3 separate regions of the Homo sapiens genome follow, and regions 1 and 2 are each linked to region 3. The links are contacts of gene promoters, found by promoter capture Hi-C in blood cells and fetal thymus (Javierre and others, 2016). All regions are on one chromosome and are shown on one strand. Each heading gives the region's core, a stretch centred on a gene start or on the middle of the fragment in contact. The rest is flanking DNA. Distances are from core to core; before and after follow the strand shown.

Region 1 (2,700 bases), core at 80-2,579, 270 kb after region 3:
GGCAGGAGAAGGTCAGGGAGAGAGATTCTGTTTTCTGAGGCTGGGTCAGAGGCCTAAAACACCCCAATATTATCACAAAAGACTATGACAAGGGCTATGGGAGTTATGAGCCAGAAACCATGGGTGAGAACCAATACATATGTATCATAATGTCACACCAACTAACCAGCTCTGAAGTTTTCACTTTTCCCTGGAGCTTTCTATTTCTTCTGCTATCTTTTTTCCTTTTTTTTTTTTTTTTTTTTTTTTTGAGTTTCACTCTTGTTGCCCAGGCTGGAGTGCAATGGCCTGGTCTTGGCTCACCACAACCTCTGCCTTCTGGGTTCAAGTGATTCTCCTCCTCAGCCTCCGGAGTACCTGGGATTACAGGCACCTGCCACCACGCCTGGCTAATTTTGTATTTTTAGTAGAGATGGGGTTTCTCCATGTTGGTCAAGCTGGTCTCAAACTCCCAACCTCAGAAGATCCACCCACCTCGGCCTCCCAAAGTGCTGGGATTACAGGCATGAGCCACAGCGCCCAGCCTATTTCTTCTGCTTTCTTGTGGGCTATTTCTCCCCCTTGATCTTCTCTTCCAATGTTCCTTCCTCCTTTGCCTGGGAAGGCCCTGATGAACACCACCAGACTTGGATACCCACCTACCGATGGAGCAAATGAAGAGAGGATCAAGGACAAAGCCCTTTAACGTCCCTCCATCTTGGTGCCTCCCTCACCAGCACTCAGACCAGAAGTATCAGGCAGAGAAGAAGCCTTAAAAACTCTTTCCACAGTGTCCAGCCTTGGAGGAATTGGAGAACAGCAGCTAAAGCCTGAATTTGAGGGATAAAGATAAAGTATGGAGAAGGCCGAAATTAAACCCAAATCTGTATCAACTCAGGGCTTTCACAGGCAGCAAAGACCCCTAGATCTATCATGAATCTGAGTCATTGCCTTGTAGCCCCTATCTAGCAGTTGATCTGTTGATATTTCCATTCTTCATTCAATTTCAACTTACAAGGGGACTTCTCTCACACCAGCACTCCACAAACTGTTGTGGGTGATGCCAAGACACCAAACGACAACATCCAGCCCTTAGTGAGCTGGTGGTGGGAATGTGAGAAGCACATGGAAGATACATGCTGGTCTCTATGGTTAGTTCAGCATCCAACTGCACACACAGTTGATGCATGCCAGAGGAGTTCAAAGGAAGGTATATTTAGGGACTGTATTAGTGTCCTCTGGGTGCCGTCACAAAGTGCCACAAGCTGGGTGGCTTAAAACAGCAGAGATTTAGGCCGGGCGTGGTGGCTCACACCTGTAATCCCAGCACTTTGGGAGGCCGAGGTGGGTGGATCACCTGAGGTTGGGAGATCGAGACCAGCCTGACCAACACGGAGAAACCCCGTCTCTACTAAAAATACAAAAATTAGCTGGGCATGGTGGCGGGTGCCTGTAATCTGAACTACTCGGGAGGCTGAGGCAGGAGAATTGCTTGAACCTGGGAGGCACAGGTTGTGGTGAGCTGAGATTGCGCCACTGCACTCCAGCCTGGGCAACAAGAGCAAAACTTCATCTCAAAACAAACAAACAAACAAACAAACAAACAAAACAGCACAGATTTATTCTCTCATAGCTTTGAAGGTGAAAAGTCCAAAATTTCCAGGCAAGACTCCTTCCTCAATTAGGAGTCTTCAGCTGTTGGTTGTTGCCAGCTATCCATACCATTCCTTGGCTTTGTAACTGCATCACCCTGATTCTGTCTTCATCTTACATGGCTGTGTTCTTTCTGTGTGTGTCTCTGCCTCTGTGACCAAATTTCTCTCTTCTTACAAAGAAGAAGTTATAGCCCACCTGAATCCAGTATTACCTTATTTTTACTTGGTTACATCTGTAAAGATCCTATTTCTTTTTTTATTTTAACTCAGCTAAAAAAGATCACATTTCCAGGCTGGGCGTGGTGGCTCATGCCTGTAATCCCAACACTACGGGAAGCCAAGGTGGCAGGATCATTTGAGCCCAGGAGTTCGAGACCAGCGTGGGCAACATGGCGAAAGTCTGTCTCTACAAAATAATACAAAAATTAGCCAGGAGTGGTGGTGCGTGCCTATAGTTGCAGCTACTTGGGAAGCTGGAGCAGGAGGATCTCTTGAATCTGGGAGATGGAGAGTGCAGTGAGCCAAGGTTTCGCCACTGCACTCCAGCCTGGGCGACAGAGTGAGTCCCTGTCTCAAAAAAAACTAAAACATAAAAGGAAAGAAAAGATCTTATTTTTTTTAATTTTTATATTTTTTGAGACAGCATCTCGCTCTGTCGCCCAGGCTGGAGTGCAATGGCATGATCTCGGCTCACTGCAACCTCCACCTCCTGGGTTCAAGCGATTCTCCTGCCTCAGCCTCCCGAGTAGCTGGGACTACAGGCACCCGCCACCACGCCCAGCTAATTTTTATACTTTTAATAGAGACGGGGTTTCATCATGTTGGCCAGGATGGTCTCAATCTCTTGACCTTGTGATCCACCCGCCTTGGCCTCCCAAAGTGCTGGGATTACAGGCGTGAGCCACCGCGCCCAGCCAGAAAAGATCTTATTTTTAAATAAAATCATGTTCACAGGGACTGGGGTTAGGACTTGAATATATCTTTTGAGGGGACACAATGCGACCTATACCAGGTAGATAAAACAAAGGCTGGACAAAGTGATTGATTTTTCACTGTAGAGGTCACA
Region 2 (2,700 bases), core at 50-2,549, 340 kb after region 3:
TGATGCTCAGTTTGGGTGCGACAAGGCCGACCCCTAGTGAGGAGCTGCAAGGGTGTCAGGGAGTGGGGCGGTGACAGGGGAGGAGGCTTCCTGGGGGTCTTCCTGATACCAGGCTCTGGGAGAGGCTCTCGGGCAGCTCCAAGGTGGGGTCTTGGTTTGGGTGTTCCCCACGAGCAGCCCTTGACACAAGGATTTGAGTTCAATTTGTTAATTTTTGGGAAATTAACAAATTTAATTTCCCAAAAATTAAATTCGGGATGGGAAGGAAACACCTGCACCAGAGGAATGGAAAAATGAGATAGGAAAAAAAGCCAGCAGTCAGCGTGGGTGGAGGGGGCTTCTGGAAGCCAGAGTGTGGCCCCGGGGCGTGGAACTGCTGTGTGTCAGCAGGAATCCCCTGCCTCCTGGCCTGGTGCGCACGTGCCTGCGGGGCCCATCGGGCAGCAGTTCTGAAGTGGATAGGAAGGGACAGGCCCACTGCCTCAGGACTCCACCTTGGGGCGTTCGAGCCACCTCTGCATTGGAGAACAGTCCTTCCATCCCTCTGCCAGTGCTTAGGCCACTTCCCTACCACCAGACCAGCTCTGAGGCCTGAATGTCGTGCAGATGGCACTTAGCATTCCAGAGAATGCTTGTGCTGGTGGGAGAGCCATGTAGTCACATGGGCGTCTTCATCAGGGAGCACGTGAGCTGGGATGACACAGCATGGGGAGATGAGGAGGATGTATCTTCTGGGTATAAACCCCTTAAATGGGGGTCATCACCACCCATGACTGTCAGCCCGGCGCTGCAGCTGCTCCCACCACCTCCCCAAACCTGGCTGCTATACCCAGGAAGGGTCCTGGCTTCCCTTCTCTGTGCCTGGCCTGCTGTCTTCCCTCTTTTCCTGAGACCCTGTGCACCCCAACCTCCCGCTGGCCACCTCCCAGCCTGAACTCTGACCAAGCCCCCATGGCTCAGGATGCGCCAGCTCAGCTACCTTCTCTCTGTTCCCCAAAAAAGCCTCTTTTTTTCCTGCCTCATGGCCTTGGCCCTCCTTCTCCCTAGACCAGTGGCACTGGGAACAGGCATGCTCCCAGCTAGGAAGAAGCCGGGGACATAAAGCTAGCAGCTGTGGTGAGGATACCAGGGTGAGTGCTGAGGGTGAGGGACCTGGGCTTCCTGTTTTTAATGATTAAGCCTCAGCCTCAAAAAGCTTTTGACAGCCTGGACAACATGGCCAGACCCTATCTCTACCAAAATGGAAAAAATTAGCCAGGTATGGTGGCATGTGCCTGTAGTCCCAGCTACTCAGGAGGCTGAGGTGGGAGGATTGCTTGAACCCAGGAGGTCGAGGCTGCACTGAGCTGAGATTGTGCCACTGCACTCCAGACAGAGTGAGACTCTGTTAAAAAAAAAAAAAAAAAAGCTTTGATTATGAGGTTATATCTATTGATCGTTACTGTATTAAAAATTAAAACTGAGGAGTTTAAAAGTATTTTAAATATTAATATTTTTATATGAATATTTAGTACTTTAAAGATTTAAAAATATTGTTTAATATTTTAACATTATAAAATGCAAGTACCAAGCCTATCACCTGTTTACATTAAGACTTTTTATGAAAAAATAACTTTTCCAAAACAAAAATGTACTGAAGACACTGGCATTATTCTACATTTTGCAAATCTCTTTATTGTATGACTTTAAATAAGCCACATTCTGCGTTTGATCTGTTGTTGCATTGTGTTGTTTGGGTTAAAGTAACTGAAGAACTGGACGGGCGAGGTGGCTCACACCTGTAATCCCAGCACATTGGGAGGCCGAGGTGGGCAGATCATGAGGTTAAGAGATTGAGACTGTCTTGGCCAACATGGTGAAACCCTGTCTCTACTGAAAATACAAAAAATTATCTGGGCGTGGTGGCACGTGCCTGTAGTCCCAGCTACTCAGGAAGCTGAGGCAGGAGGATTGCTTGAAACCGGGAGGTGGAGGTTACAGTGAGCTGAATTCACGCCACTTCACTCCAGCCTGGGTGATACAGTGAGACTCTGTCTCAAAAAAAAAAAGTAGCTAAAGAACATCTGGCCTCACATAGACGTGTAGTTGGGAAAGGGAGGAGTATCTTCATAGCTTTTTCAGATAATTATGCATATTCTTTGTTATCAGGACCAGCGCAAGAAGTGGTAGTTCTTAAAGGTTTGTTGTGGTGTGGAATCTGAAACCATGTTGCTGATTCCACACGGGTCTACCTTGCACTTTGTTTTGTTTTTTTTTGTTTTGTTTTGTTTTTGAGATGAAATCTCACTCTGTCGCCCAGGCTGGAGTGCAGTGGTGCGATCTCAGCTCACTGCAACCTCTGCCTCCCGGTTCAAGTGATTCTCTTGCCTCAGCCTCCCGAGTAGCTGGGATTACAGGTGCCCACCGACGCCCGGATAATTTTTGTCTTTTCAGTAGAGACGGGGTTTCACCATGTTGCCAGGCTGGTCTCAAACTCCTGACCTCAAATCATCCGTCTGCCTCGGCTTCCCAAAGTGCTGGGATTACAGGCGTGAGCCACCACAACTGGCCACACTTTGAATGGATCTTTTAGATGTGTCTGATTTCATAACCACATACATCGATCATTTCGAAAATATTGTTTCACCAAGTTATGCACGTCTTCCAAGTGTTGACACCCTTCATTATATAATATCCTAAAAAAGCACATTTGTTTTCTGA
Region 3 (2,700 bases), core at 87-2,586:
TTTTTTTTTTCCAGACAGTCTTGCTCTATCGCCCAGGCTGGAGTGCCTGGAGTGCAGTGGTGCCAACTCGGCTCACTGCAAGCTCCGCCTTCTGGGTTCAAGTGATTATCCTGCCTCAGCCTCCCGAGCAGCTGGGATTACAGGCGTGAACCACCATGCCCGGCTAATTTTTTGTATTTTTAGGAGAGACAGGGTTTCACCTTGCTGGCCAGGCTGGTCTTGAACTTCTGACCTCCTGATCCGCTCGCCTCAGCCTCCCAAAGTGCTGGGATTACAGGAGTGAACCACCGCGCCTGGCCCTCAATTTCTAATTCAGTATTTTCCTCACTACCTATGCTATTATGGAATCTTGTGAGCTATGGTCAAGACATTCAAGTTCTGGTTCTGAGTAATCTGAGTCTGAGTAAAGCGACTGTAATATCTATTTCACAGAACTGAAAAATAAGAAAGATGATGAATCAAAGCATCTAGTGCCTAGCAGGGAGTATTTTGCTCAACAGGTATTTGCTTCCTTCCTAAGGCTGTAGGGAAGATGATGAGATAATGTCTTTTATGAAAGAGGGCTGTAAACGTAAAGATCTGTACAAATGTTAACTTCATTGTCACCGGTCAGCCAATGCTTCTAAAATCCAGAACATAACAACTCTAGAGAAGTAAACTGCCCCCATTGTTCTGAGACACTGGAATTCAATTCAGTAAACAATCACGGCCCCCTTCCCCCAAAATGATAAAGACAATCACTGCCATTTATTGAGCTTCCAATTACGGGCCCTCTGTTTGGCACTGAGAATACAAAGATGAATAGACATCATCCCAGAGCTAGATGCGCGTCAGACGGTGGTCACTAGGAGGCGTGGCCGAAAACAAAGAAGTCCATGGAACGTGGCCAGAGATCTGTACAGAGGCTGTGGGCGCTCCTAGGAAAGTCTGGCCAAGTGCCTGAGAGTTGGAAGTGCTTCACCAATAAACATTTGCCCAGGGCATTGTAGGATGGGCACGGGTTCGGCAGAAGAACTTTCCAAATAAAGATAACACACCACCGATAACAGAGATATACAAACTGGAAGGTATTCAAAATTCGCCCCACGCCTCTCGCCCTTAGAAATCGCGAGCTGAGAAACCTAAGGAGTTCATGGCAAGGGGCTTCCCCCTTCCCCACCCTTCAGCCCAAGCCGGAGGTTCCAGGAGCGTCTAGCCCTCTGGATCTCCGGCGTCTGAGGAGATAAGCGCGGTGTGGGTCAGACCCCGAGGGGTCCTCGCATCTCCGTCTGGAACTCCCCTCAACGCTCTCACCATTTTGCCCCGCGAAGGCTAATCCGCCGCTCCGCCACCGGAAGAACACGTCGGCAGGAGCAGGCGCCTAGCACAACCGGAAAAGGAAGTGCCTCCGGCGCAAGTGGCATTGAGGGACTTGTAGTCCTGCGATTTCGGGTGTAGAGGGAGCAGGGGCCTGCGGGGACCTGGTGTGGGTGGAGTGGGGACAAGCGGTGGAGAAGGGTACGCCAGGGTCGCTGAGAGACTCTGTTCTCCCTGGAGGGACTGGTTGCCATGAGAGCAGCCGTCTGAGGGGACGCAGCCTGCACTACGCGCCCCAAGAGGCTGTGCGTGGCGAGCAGGTCACGTGACGGGAGCGCGGGCTTTGGAAGGCGGCTGAACGTCAGGCCACCCGCCGCTAAGCTGAGAAGGGAGAGCGAGCTTAGGACCGCCTGCCCGGGGCAACCCCGAACCAAGCTTTAGCCGCCGAGGCCGCGTGTCCCAAAGGCCAGGTGAGACCCCATGGGAAGCGCCTCCGGGAGCGACGGGGTCCGCTTGGCGCTGGGGGCCGTGGGGAGCCGGGGTCTGGAGTGCGCGGGATTCGCAGTCAAGAGGTCCCGCCACTTTTCCCCCTGTGAGCCTTGGGCCAGTCGCGTAAGCTCCGAGCCTCTCTTTCCTCCATTGTAGAAAAGCGGTAATAAGTTCCACCTTATGGGGTCGTGTTGTATTTTTCCTAAGACCTTGGACGAGAAACATTTCTGACACTTGAGTTGTTTAGGCCCCTTTCCTGCCTACCTGTCTGTGGGACGCCGTGAGGGGATCAAGGGCTACATGGTCTGGTCCTCAGTCCACACTCCAGCAGCGCGGCCGGCTTGAGGCAAGAGCCGAAGGGTTGAACAGGCCTGGAGAGGGGACATTAGAGGTTTCTGTCTGTTGTCTCAGTTAACCCTGGCAGCAGCCCTGAGAGACAGGCATGGTAATCGTTCTTCTTCTGTAGACGAGAAAATAAACCTCAGTGGCTTGGTAATGTCACACGGATGGTAAATGCCGCGCCTAGATTCAAGGCCAGAGCTTTTGCCGCTGCAGTTCACAGGGGAATTATTCATATTAATCAAATGAATAATTCATTGTCAATTAATTATTAATTGATTAATAATCCAGGGATGGACCTGGAAGGACGCGTGAGAGGATGGCGAGAGGAGGGCACAGCTAAGGAAAAGTGGGAAAAGGCGGGCCTTATTCCAGCTTTCTGTTGAGATCCCAGAATGTAGGGTTAGGTTGGGAACCAGAACATGAAAGATCGTGATGCCATGCTGAAGTGTTTGGACTGAATTAGAAGGAAGAATTGAACAGTCATTGATGCTCTAGAAAGAACCCTGTGAAGAAAGAGTGGGAACAATGAAAAGGCCTGATGGAGTCTTTCGTTTCTTCTTTCTCTTTTCTTTT

Evidence for each region. The method cuts DNA at HindIII sites, captures the fragments that hold promoters and counts their contacts. A CHiCAGO score of 5 or more calls a contact.
Region 1: a contact is called between a fragment that was not itself captured here and the fragment with the promoter of TMEM258 in region 3, in 2 of 17 cell types (neutrophils and monocytes). The highest score is 9.4, in neutrophils.
Region 2: a fragment that was not itself captured here is called in contact with the fragment with the promoter of TMEM258 in region 3 in 1 of 17 cell types (total CD8 T cells); the score reaches 5.4 in total CD8 T cells.

The regions. Positions count from the first base shown.
Region 1 is chr11:62,064,561-62,067,260 of GRCh38, forward strand. All of the region lies in intron 1 of LINC02733 (long intergenic non-protein coding RNA 2733), which reads right to left. Among named protein-coding and RNA genes, the nearest start is that of LINC02733, 16 kb to the right of the region's middle. The HindIII fragment of the contact is 8,726 bases long and covers 1-2,700 here.
Region 2 is chr11:62,133,014-62,135,713 of GRCh38, forward strand. The region is part of intron 4 of INCENP (inner centromere protein); the gene reads left to right. Among named protein-coding and RNA genes, the nearest start is that of INCENP, 10 kb to the left of the region's middle. The HindIII fragment of the contact is 213 bases long and covers 1,194-1,406 here.
Region 3 is chr11:61,791,263-61,793,962 of GRCh38, forward strand. It overlaps TMEM258 (transmembrane protein 258), which reads right to left and starts at 1,337. Exons shown (of 4, transcript NM_014206.4): 1 at 1,294-1,337. The coding sequence starts at 1,296. FEN1 (flap structure-specific endonuclease 1) reads left to right here and starts at 1,649. Exons shown (of 2, transcript NM_004111.6): 1 at 1,649-1,766. MIR611 (microRNA 611) reads right to left here and starts at 1,299; the gene lies at 1,233-1,299. RefSeq lists enhancers at 585-1,562, 1,355-1,649, 1,563-2,538. The HindIII fragment of the contact is 6,270 bases long and covers 1-1,729 here.